Linked DNA regions of Homo sapiens: all the other regions are linked to region 2. Evidence: promoter capture Hi-C in human tissues and cell types (Jung and others, 2019). All regions are on one chromosome and are shown on one strand. The core of a region is centred on a gene start or on the middle of the fragment in contact, and the rest is flanking DNA. Distances in the headings are between cores, read along the strand shown.

The links. Contacts are between HindIII fragments. The study calls those that stand out against the background at their distance.
Region 1: a fragment that was not itself captured here is called in contact with the fragment with the promoter of NAGA in region 2 in 1 of the 25 tissues and cell types used here (dorsolateral prefrontal cortex).
Region 3: a fragment that was not itself captured here is called in contact with the fragment with the promoter of NAGA in region 2 in 1 of the 25 tissues and cell types used here (lymphoblastoid cells).

Annotation. Positions count from the first base shown.
Region 1 is chr22:42,332,601-42,335,857 of GRCh38, forward strand. It overlaps a transcript of TCF20 not described here. Among named protein-coding and RNA genes, the nearest start is that of LINC01315, 35 kb to the right of the region's middle. The HindIII fragment of the contact is 4,393 bases long and covers 1-3,257 here.
Region 2 is chr22:42,069,272-42,072,603 of GRCh38, forward strand. NAGA (alpha-N-acetylgalactosaminidase) reads right to left here and starts at 1,541. Exons shown (of 9, transcript NM_000262.3): 1 at 1,011-1,541. The coding sequence starts at 1,026. RefSeq lists a silencer at 1,322-1,621 and an enhancer at 1,802-1,851. The HindIII fragment of the contact is 6,054 bases long and covers 58-3,332 here.
Region 3 is chr22:41,653,655-41,657,166 of GRCh38, forward strand. XRCC6 (X-ray repair cross complementing 6) reads left to right here. Exons shown (of 13, transcript NM_001469.5): 9 at 1-36; 10 at 3,249-3,378. Among named protein-coding and RNA genes, the nearest start is that of SNU13, 33 kb to the right of the region's middle. The HindIII fragment of the contact is 3,766 bases long and covers 332-3,512 here.

The DNA of each region.
Region 1 (3,257 bases), core at 42-2,541, 260 kb after region 2:
TCAAGCAATTCTCCTGCCTCAGCCTCCCTGCTAATTTTTGCAATTTTAGTAGAGATGGGGTTTCACCATATTGGCCAGGCTGGTCTCAAACTCCTGACCTCAAGTGATCTGCCTGCCTCAGCCTCCCAAAGTGCTGGGATTACAGGCATGAGCCACCGTGCCCCGCACAGCCAATTTCTGATAAAGCAACTGCATGGGCAAACACGATGCTACAGGAAAGGGACCATGCTGTGCGGCTCTGTTTCTATAAAGTGCAGAGATGGACAAGGCCAGCCTCTACTGTCAGATGCCAGGAGTGGGGGCAGCTGCTGGCAGCAGGTGGGGGTTGACTGGGAGGAGCACGGGGGAGCCTCCAGGGGCACTGGGGATGTTCTAGGTCTGGATCTGGATGGAGGCTGCACAGCTACCTATAGCTGTACACTTAAGAAGTGTGCACTTTTCTGTATTAAGTTATACCTCCAAGAAAAAGTAAAAACAAAAGCCTGGCTGCGTCACTCTGCCTCTCTTAATCTCTGTTTTTGCATTGGCAAAATGCAATGGCAGGAGCTGCCCCACTGTGCAGAGGCTTTAGAGGACGGTGCACCCAGTCTGTGTGCAGTGGCAGGAGCTGCCTCGCTGTGCAGAGGCTTTAGGGGATGGTGCACCAGGGCTGTGTGTAGACAGTGGCAGGAGGTGCCTCACTGTGCAGAGGCTTTAGAGGATGGTGCACCAGGGCTGTGTGTAGACAGTGGCAGGAGCTGCCTCGCTGTGCAGAAGCTTTAGAGGATGGTGCACCAGGGCTGTGTGTAGACAGTGGCAGGAGCTGTCTCGCTGTGCAGAGGCTTTAGAGGACGGTGCACCAGGGCTGTGCACAAGCCTGGCTGACAGCCACTGCACCATGAACGCAAGTCACACAGAAGCAGAAAAGTATCTGGCTTCCACCACACCTTGGCCCTCTTTGAGCCTCAGTTTCGGTAAGGAACCAGTGGTCCCCACCTGCCTCAGAGGCAAAGGGGTAAAGGTGTAAAAACCCTCATATCAGGCCCCTGTGAGCCAGCTTGCCCCTCGCCACAAAGTGGAGAGCAATTCAGAGACCAGAACACACAGTATGCCTACTGCTCCACGCAGTAGGTACTAAGCCTGTAACTCACTGCCCACAGCCACACACAGAGGAAGGCGATAGAAGGCAGGCCTAGCCCAAGCTTCCAGGTGCCCAACCTGCTCACCCACTATGTGCCAGGCCTGGCCTAGGGCTTCCCTCTAGGAGGAGCACCGGCCCACCACGATGGCTCCTCCAGGTGCCACTGGGACACAGGACCATAGGCACAAGCGCAGTGGGAACCCAGGCCAACGGGTGGCCCCTGCCTGGGGCTGGAGTTTAGCAGACTCCTGTGGGAACAGGCTCACAAGGTTCCAGATGAGCCACCAGATAAAGGTGACTCAACATAATGGTACCCTTGGTGTCAGAGGGGCTGCATGGCCAGGTGCCCCTCACACCATGGGCAGCTGGAAGCAGGGAGAGGCCTGGTTCCCTGTCCAGAGCCTGAACATCTCACCCTCCTCCCTGGGACCTTGGGTGGCCTTGGGAAATCAGACTGGTGGCAACCTCACCAACAATTTGTAGGCTCAGCTGTCCTCACGGCCCTTTAATATCATTTTCTCATGAGTCTGCCAACAACCTAGGGACAGGGCCCGGGGTCAGAATCATCATTGGCTCCATTTTACAGAGGAGTACACTGAGGCTCTAGGAGGTTTGGTGTCCCAGGGGTACCCCAATGAGGAGTCAAGAAGCAGCTAGATGGCTGGATGCCCATGGTCAGCCCCTGGGCACAACTCAGTCCCCTGTGCCCTGTCCTCCCCATCACCTGGGGGCTGCTCACTCAAGCAGCCAGTTCACTCAGTCAGTCAACAAACAGCAACTGTGTGCTGCAGCCACTGTTCTAGGAGCTGGAGGCAGAGCAGGGAACAGGCTAGGCTGCAGGGAGGTGGTTCCGAGTCAACAACCGCTCCAGCCCTTACACACTCGGCACATGCCGAGAACAACAGTGTGGCAGACACACTGGCGCCTGTCATGAGCCAGGCGCTGCACTGAGACTATCACATCTAATTCTCTAAGCAGCCTCACAAGGGTGGAATAGTCATCCCCATTTTACAGATGAGGACGCTGAGGCTCAAATTCAGGGCCTTGCCTGAGTGTAGTCTCACAGCCTAGTCTAAGTGGGGAAGGATCTGGCCCCAAGCACGTGGGCTCCTCAGTCCTGTCTGTCCGTCCCATGGGACTTTTAGTCCTTTGTGTGAGTTGTCGGAAGGGAACCTTGCTCTGGACCTCAGCAATGGATGGATCTAGCAGGGCCTCAGGATGAACCAGGACCCAAGACTCCACACCCCATCCCGTGTCTCAGGCCCTGGCTGCCTACAGTATCCAGAGCTGTACACCCTCTGGGCCCGGAGCCCAGCCTGACTTTCGTTCTGCATACGCTCCTGGGACCTGGGCTCCACAGAGACATCCGAGACCATTCCTGCTCCCGGGGCCCTGCCCACATCAGCTCAGCCCCAGCAAAGATCCCAGTTTTGTGCTGGCCCCCACCAGGCAAGAGGGGTGGGGAAACAGACAAGAAAGCAAGGAGTCCCACTTGGGATGCTCTCCCCGCACACCTCCCATGGCTGGCACCTTCTCCTGCCCCTGATAAAGGCTCCCTGGCCACCCTGCCTCTATCAGCACCCCCTGCACCTCCCACTCTCTCTCTGGCACCACTCAGCTTTTCCACACAGCCCTGCCCACAGGCCGGCACCAGCCACGTTTTCACCTGTTTGCTGTCTGTCACTCCTACTCCACTGTGAGCTCCTCGAGGGTGAGAACCTGGTCTGCTTTATTCACAAATGTAGCTCTCCCCATCCCACCCCCAATCAGTACCACATCTGGTGCATAGTAGGGCTGCAATATCCTTATTAAGGGACTGCATTTGCTGAATGAATACTGACTGGCAGAGAGAATGCGAGAACACAGTGCACGCATCTGTTACCCCTGACTCTGAGCAGACAGCAGGGGGGCAGAGAGTGGGGAAGTGTCCCAGGCAGAAGGCATAGCAGGGGCAGAGACCTGAGGGCAAGAAAGAACTGGGCTCTGGGACCTCTAAGTGCAGCTTCTGAGTGCGGCAGAAGCACAGGACGTGAGACTAGGGAGCCAGTAGGGTGGCAAGGGGGTGACAGGGAGCCCTTCAGGGTGCCAGCTCTGGGGTGGGGGTGCCCCAGCACTCAGATCACGCCCCCAGCCCTGC
Region 2 (3,332 bases), core at 291-2,790:
TTAATACACCTAACCTGGCAAACATCATAGCTGAGCCTAGCCTACCTTAAAAATGTGGACAGGCCAGGCACGGTGGCTCACTCCTGTAATTCCAGCACTTTGGGAGGCCGAGGTGGGCGGATCACCGTAAGTCAGGGGTTCAAGACCAGCTTGGGCAATATGGTGAAACCCTGTCTCTACTAAAACTACAAAAAAATACCGGGGTGAGGTGGTGAGTGCCTGTAATCCCAGCTACTTAGGAGGCTGAGCAGGAGACTTGCTTGAACCTGGGAGATGGAGGTTGCAGTGAGCCGAGATCGCGCCACTCTACTCCACTCCAGCCTGGGTGACAGAGTGAGACTCCGTCTCAAAAAAAAAAAAAAAAAAAAAGTGCGACAACGCACATTAGCCTACAGCTGGCCAAAATCATCTAACACAAAGCCTATTTTATAATAAATTGTTGAATATTTCATGCAATTTACTGAATACTGAAACACAGGTTGTATACGTACTGTGGTTTCTACTGAATGTGCGTCGCTTTCACACCACAGTAAAGTTGAAAAATCGTTAAGTCGGGACCATTGGCCAGACTCCAGGTCTCCTGAGCCCCAGTCCAGAGCTCTTTGCTCTCTACCACAGACCCTCAAGAGGCCTCAGAGAGGCTTAAGAAGTAAGCCAGCCAGGATGGGCACCCAATCAGCTCACCTAAGTGAGACCTTTCCCCCTCGGGCCTCAGTTTCCTTATCTGTAATATGGAGTTACTGTAGGGACTGTACAGGCGGTTCTCCGCACATGCTGATATCCATCAGTTAGGGCCTCTGTGCTTGAGGGAGAGGAAGTGAGAAAGGAAGGGCCCCTTTGAAGGAGAAATGATTCCCGTATGGGGAAGCATCTCCTCCCTTCCTGCCCAGCTCTAAGTAAAAGAGAGAGGAACCTGTCTCTCCACATACCCACATTAGGGAAGAAGGGCCAAAGCACTCCTTGTAGCACTCACCCCTACCCTTCCAAGCCACCCCAGCCGGTGTAGGTACCTGTCTTCAGCAGCATCGCTCTGGACTCAGCTTCCGAGGACCTGACCAGATCTGGTCTGCGTGTATCAGCTGTATGTGTTGGGCTCTGGAAGCTAAGAAACGTCTGAAAAGCACTGGGGTCACGGCTGCCTGGCTAGCTCGGCCGCCCTCAACCTTAGGCGTGGATCGTACACTCGGTCCCCAAGTTGCCCGCCCCATCCCCAGCCATCACTTCCCGGAGCTTCAGTTCTTCCTTCAGAAATACGAAACAACGTGTCTTGGATGTCAGACCTCACACCCTCTGCAGTGCTGGGAGTCCCGAGGGCCTACGGGCCGCCTTCGGCCCCGCCCGGGCTCAGAAAAAGGCAGCCACTGGCTTAAGGTCACCAAGAAAGAGCGGAGGGGCGGGGCTGCGGCCAGGCTCCGGACTTCCAGCCGGGTCCGGGTTCCCGCCCTGGGCTCCCCAAAACCGCAGAGCCCCCTCCCACCGCACTTATCCTACCGAAGCGTTCAGACCTGCCGCCGCTTCTGACTCGAATCCGGTAACCTGATAAGTCCGAAGCGTTCCAGTGAGGGCGGGGCCTCACGAAGGCAACCCTTCGCGCAACCTATCAGAATCCCCCCTAGCAACGCTGTGCCCCGCCCATATGGGTCCGGCCTCCCAGCCTCCCTAAGCCCTTCCCCACTGGGCTCCCGCCCTGCGTGCTAGCGAGGCAGGCATTGGCAGAACGGACTCGGGGCTGTCCTTCGTGGCCCGGACCCCGCGAGGCCTGTCCTTCCACCTCTGTGGGGACCAAGAGGGCAAGGATCGTGCCAGGCTCACCGTGGGCGCTCAGTAAGCGGCCGTGCAGAGGACGGTTGAGGGCTTTGTGCAGAGGAAATGAGAGACTGCTCTGAAGCAAGGCCCGCCTAGTGAGCTGCTAGGAAAATGGAAGTCTGGGATTAATCGTCTCTACAAGGAGGGTGCGTGGGAGGCACCAAAGCAGGCGGTCACAGCTCCCGCAAAGGCAGCCGGCTCTCCTTCCCCGCCTGACGCTCAGGGACTACTCGCACAGACTGGGCTACTTCCTTCTTCATTCATTCATCAAGTATTTATTGAGAAACTGCTAAGTGCCAAATGCTTTGTTCTGGGCATTGTAGGGGCAGAAAGGTGTGATATTTTCCCTTACTCATCCCAAAGGTCACAGCGGACACTCCTACAAATAAAATATAGGTTAGCAAGAGAAAAGCATAATAGATTGATTTACTCAATGTTTTATGTGACTTGAGAGCCTTCAGGAATGAAGACACAAATACTCAGGGAAATCTTTATTTTTATGTCTCGGTTTGATGAAGAATGGACAGCCCTGGCCGGGTCTGGTGGCTCATGCCTGTAATCCCAGCACTTTGGAAGGCTGAGGCAGGGGGATCGCTTGAGGCCAGACATTTAAGGACAGTCTGGGCAACATAGTGAGACCCTGTCTCTACAAAAAATTAAAAAGCCAGGCAGGTGCCTGTGGTCCCAGCTACTCGGGAGGCTGAGGTGGGAGGATTGCTTGAGTCCAGGAGGTCGAGGTTGCAGTGAGCTGTGATTGTGTCACTGTACTCCAGCCCGGGCAACAGAAAAAAAAAAAAAGGAATAAGGAATGGACAACTGTGTATAAACGCGATTAGACAAAAGGGAATGATTTAATGTTAATAGCTGAGTGTGGAAACCCAGCAATGTCTGTTCAGATTCGGATTCTTCTTGTTCTCTCTGTGTGGCATTCCCTCCTGCTGGGAGGAGGGCAGGACCCCTTCTGGAATGAGAGTCTTATGACCTAGTATCAGGCAAGGTAGATCAGAGAATTCCTTTATGGCCAGGCCCGACACAGAAAGGTGGGGGATGTTTCCAGTAATATTTGTAGTTACTTTTTTTTCTTTTTTTTTTTCTTTTGAGACAGAGTCTCCCTCTGTCACCAGGCTGGAGTGCAGTGGCGCGATCTCTGCTCACTGCAACCTCCGCCGCCCAGGTTCAAGCGATTCTCCTGCCTCAGCCTCCCAAGTAGTTGGGACTACAGGCGCACGCCACCATGCCCAGCTAATTTTTGTATTTTTAGTAGAGATGGGGTTTCACCATGTTGGCCAGGATGGTCTTGATCTCTTGACCTCGTGATCCGCCCACCTCAGCCTCCCAAAGTGCTGGGATTACAGGCATGAGCCACTGTGCCCAGCCAATATTTGTAGTTGCTATAACTCACCTTAGGGAGGAGGATTTTTAGTTTCTATGGCCTGCCTTGCAGGAGAAAAACAGGAGAAAGAAGGGGGGCAGGAGAAGGTCAGAGAGATACTTTGCTTCTGAGGCTCTTCCAGTGTCCTTTGGTT
Region 3 (3,512 bases), core at 965-3,464, 410 kb before region 2:
AGTTGGATGACCAGAAAATTCAGGTGACTCCTCCAGGTATGTGGCAGAGATATTTCCAGGGCTTCTGAACCTTGCCCATACTTTGGAATCATCCATGGACTCCTAATGCAGACCTACTGAATCATAGTCTCTGGGAATGGGGCTTAAAAATGTCTATTTTTAAGCTTTCTTGGGTGAATTTAGTGCACAGCCAGGTAAGGCCACTAAATATGGTGATGGGGTGCACAGCATGCGCAGCCGTACAAGGCTGATCTGCAGCTAGGATAGAGAAATGTCTGCCTAGGGGACTGTTTGCAGATTACTGACACAAGTTCTTGGGACCTCACTGCCGACACCTTTCTTTCCAAAGCCATTGTTTGGCACCCTTGTAATGTCTAATGTTTGGTTTAGTTCCTATACAAACCAACCATGGGGTTTGCCAAGATAGTGAGGTATAGCGGAAAGACCATGGATTTTAAAGTCAGATTTGACTTTATCTTGTGCTTATGTGTCTGGAAGCTTGCTTGCTTTTGTTTTGGGCCCATCTCTGCTGCTTGTTAGCTGGTCAACGTGGGCAAGTAATTTAACCTTTCTGTTTAATATTCCTTAGCTACAAAGATGGGCGTTCTGGAGCACCTTTCCCTCGGGGTGGTTTTACATTTGAGATGAGTTACTGTAGTTTTAACTTTGATCCTCAGCATGCTCAGGAGTGCTCAGTTACTAAGCTATTGTATCTCAGCTCCAAATTCACCCTTTTATGCTCTGCACTACTGAGGCTGAAATGATCCAAACCTAATTTCATCTTTCACAGCTGGCTCTCAGGCTGTGTCTATAGTGGGTGCTAGAGGGAGACCAAAGGGCAGAGGAGAGGTGAGGGATTTGCTTCTTCCTGTTTGCTCAGTGTGGTCAGCATTGTCAGCAAAGGCTTTCACCTGGTAGCAGCAGTTAGTTACAGGGCGTAGATTTTTTAGTCCTTCCAGAACCAGCCAGTAACTGAACTAAAATCAGCCTGATAACTCTTACCTGTTTCCTTTTATTTATCACGTGGTAGAGGGTAAGGAAAAAAGGGGCGAGGGTGAAGCTCAGAGAAGGCCCCCATGGAGCTGGGACTTAGCCCTCCAGGGAGGAGGCACTGTCCGGCTAGCTCTGGATGTATCAAAAAAGCTGGAGACTGGAACCAACTGCCGCCAGGTAAAGGGTCTTTGCTGGGGCAATACAGGTAGGAACAGTAAATACAGGAGGGCCGCAACCACAGTTTTGCTTTCTGCAGTTTCAGTTACCCATAGTCAACCATGGTCCAAAAATTTTAAGTGGAAAATTCTAGAAATAACTTAAAAGCACAATCCCACCTGGGGCAGGAATCATCTGTTTGTTCAGCATCTCCACACTGTAAATGCTACCCACCAGTTAGTCACTTAGTAGCTGTCTTGGTTATCAGATTGACTGTCAAGGTAATCAGTATTGCGGTGCTTGTGTTCAGGTCACCCTTATTTAATAACGGCCCCAAAGCACAAGTGTAGTGGTGCTGGCAGTTTGGATATACTAAAGAGAAAGTCATAAAGTGCTTCCTTTAAATGAAAAGGTGAGAGTTCTTGACTTTAAGGAGGAAAAAAATATATGCTAAGGTTGCTAAGATATATGGTAAGAAGGAATCTTCGAACCACAAAATTGTTAAGGGAAAAAATTCATTTTAGTTTTTTTTTTTTTTTATGCTGAGGTTGCTAAGATACATGGTAAGAAGGAATCTTCTATCCACAAAATTGTTAAGAAGGAAAAAGAAATTCATCTTAGTGGCCAGGCGTGGTGGCTCACGCCTGTAATCCCAGCACTTTGGGATGCCAAGGTGGCGGATCACGATGTCAGGAGATTGAGACCATCCTGGCTAACACGGTGAAACCGTCTCTACTAAAAATACAAAATTAGCCAGGTGTGGTGGCAGGCTCCTGTAGTCCCAGCTACTTGGGAGGCTGAGGCAGGAGAATGGTGTGAACCCGGGAGGTGGAGTTAGTGAGCTGAGATTGCGCCACTGCACTCCAGCCTGGGTGACAGAGCGAGACTCTGTCTCAAAAAAAAAAAAAATAGTTTTTTCCCCCCCTTCTTTTTTTACATAAATTGAGACAAGGTCTCACTATGTTGCCCAGGCTGGTCTCGAACTCCTGAGCTCAAGTGATCCTCCTGCTTCAGCCTCCCAAAGTGCTGTGCTTACCGACGTGAGCCACCATGTCCGGCCCAAGCTAGTTTTCCTGTTGCACCTCAAACTGTAAAAGTTACTGCCACAGTACATGAGAAGTGCTTAGTTAAAATAGAAAAGGAGGCCAGGCACTGTGGCTAATGCCTGTAATCTTAGCACTTTGGGAGGCTGTGGCAGGTGGATCGCCTGAGCCCAGGAGTTTTGAGACCAGCCTGAGCAACATGGTGAAACTCTGTCTCTGCAAAAAAATAAAAAAAAGTAGCCAAGTGTGGTGGCATTCACTTGTAGTCCCAGCTACTTGATAGGCTACTTGAGCCGGAGAGGTAGAGGCTACAGTAAGCTGTGATCACACCACTGCATTCCAGCCTGGGTGATAGCAAGATCCTGTCTCAAAAAAAAAAAAAAAAAGATGAAGGCTGGGCGCGGTACCTCACGTCTGTAATCCCAGCACTTTGGGAAGCCGAGGTGGGCAGATCCCCTGAGGTCAGGAGTTTGAGACCAGCCTGGCCAACATGGCGAAACCCCATCTTTACCGAAAGTACAAAAATTAGCCGGGCGTGGTGGCGCCTGTAATCCCAGCTATTCAGGAGGCTGAGGCAGGAGAACCGCTTGAACCTGGGAGGCGGAGGTTGCAGCGAGCCGAGATTGCCCACTGTACTCCAGCCTGGGCGACAAGAGTGAAACTCCATCTCAAAAAAAAAAAAAGATGGAAAAAAACATTAAATATTAAATTTATGAACGTATGACATGGACAAACATGTTTCAATTGACGGCAGTCAGGTTTGGTGCTGTCCGAGGTTTCAGGTATCCTCCCGGGTTCTTCAAACATATTCCCCAGGGATAAGGGATCTACTGTATACAGGAAGGGGCACCCCTCCTCCCTTGCAGTCTTCTGGAAACTGCAGAGGGAGTCTGTTAGGCAGATGATAACAAAAACCAGCTGGTGGAGTTCAAGAAATGGGGCCTACGGGGCCCCAGCCCCAGCACCACAGGACATAAAAGGAAGAATTTGGAGCTGAGAAACAAGTGACTGCAACACTTGAAGTCAAATCAAAGAAAATTTATCTCCTTTCTTCAGGCTTCCAGCTGGTCTTTTTACCCTTTGCTGATGATAAAAGGAAGATGCCCTTTACTGAAAAAATCATGGCAACTCCAGAGCAGGTGGGCAAGATGAAGGCTATCGTTGAGAAGCTTCGCTTCACATACAGGTGAGTCAATCTCAGGCTTTCTGGAACTGCCTCCTGAGTTGAAAATCTTATTAGAAACAGCTTGGGCATAGGCCAAGAGAATGGCACTACTCTTTTCAGCAAACTGACAGATTACTACTTGTTATTAATAGTTT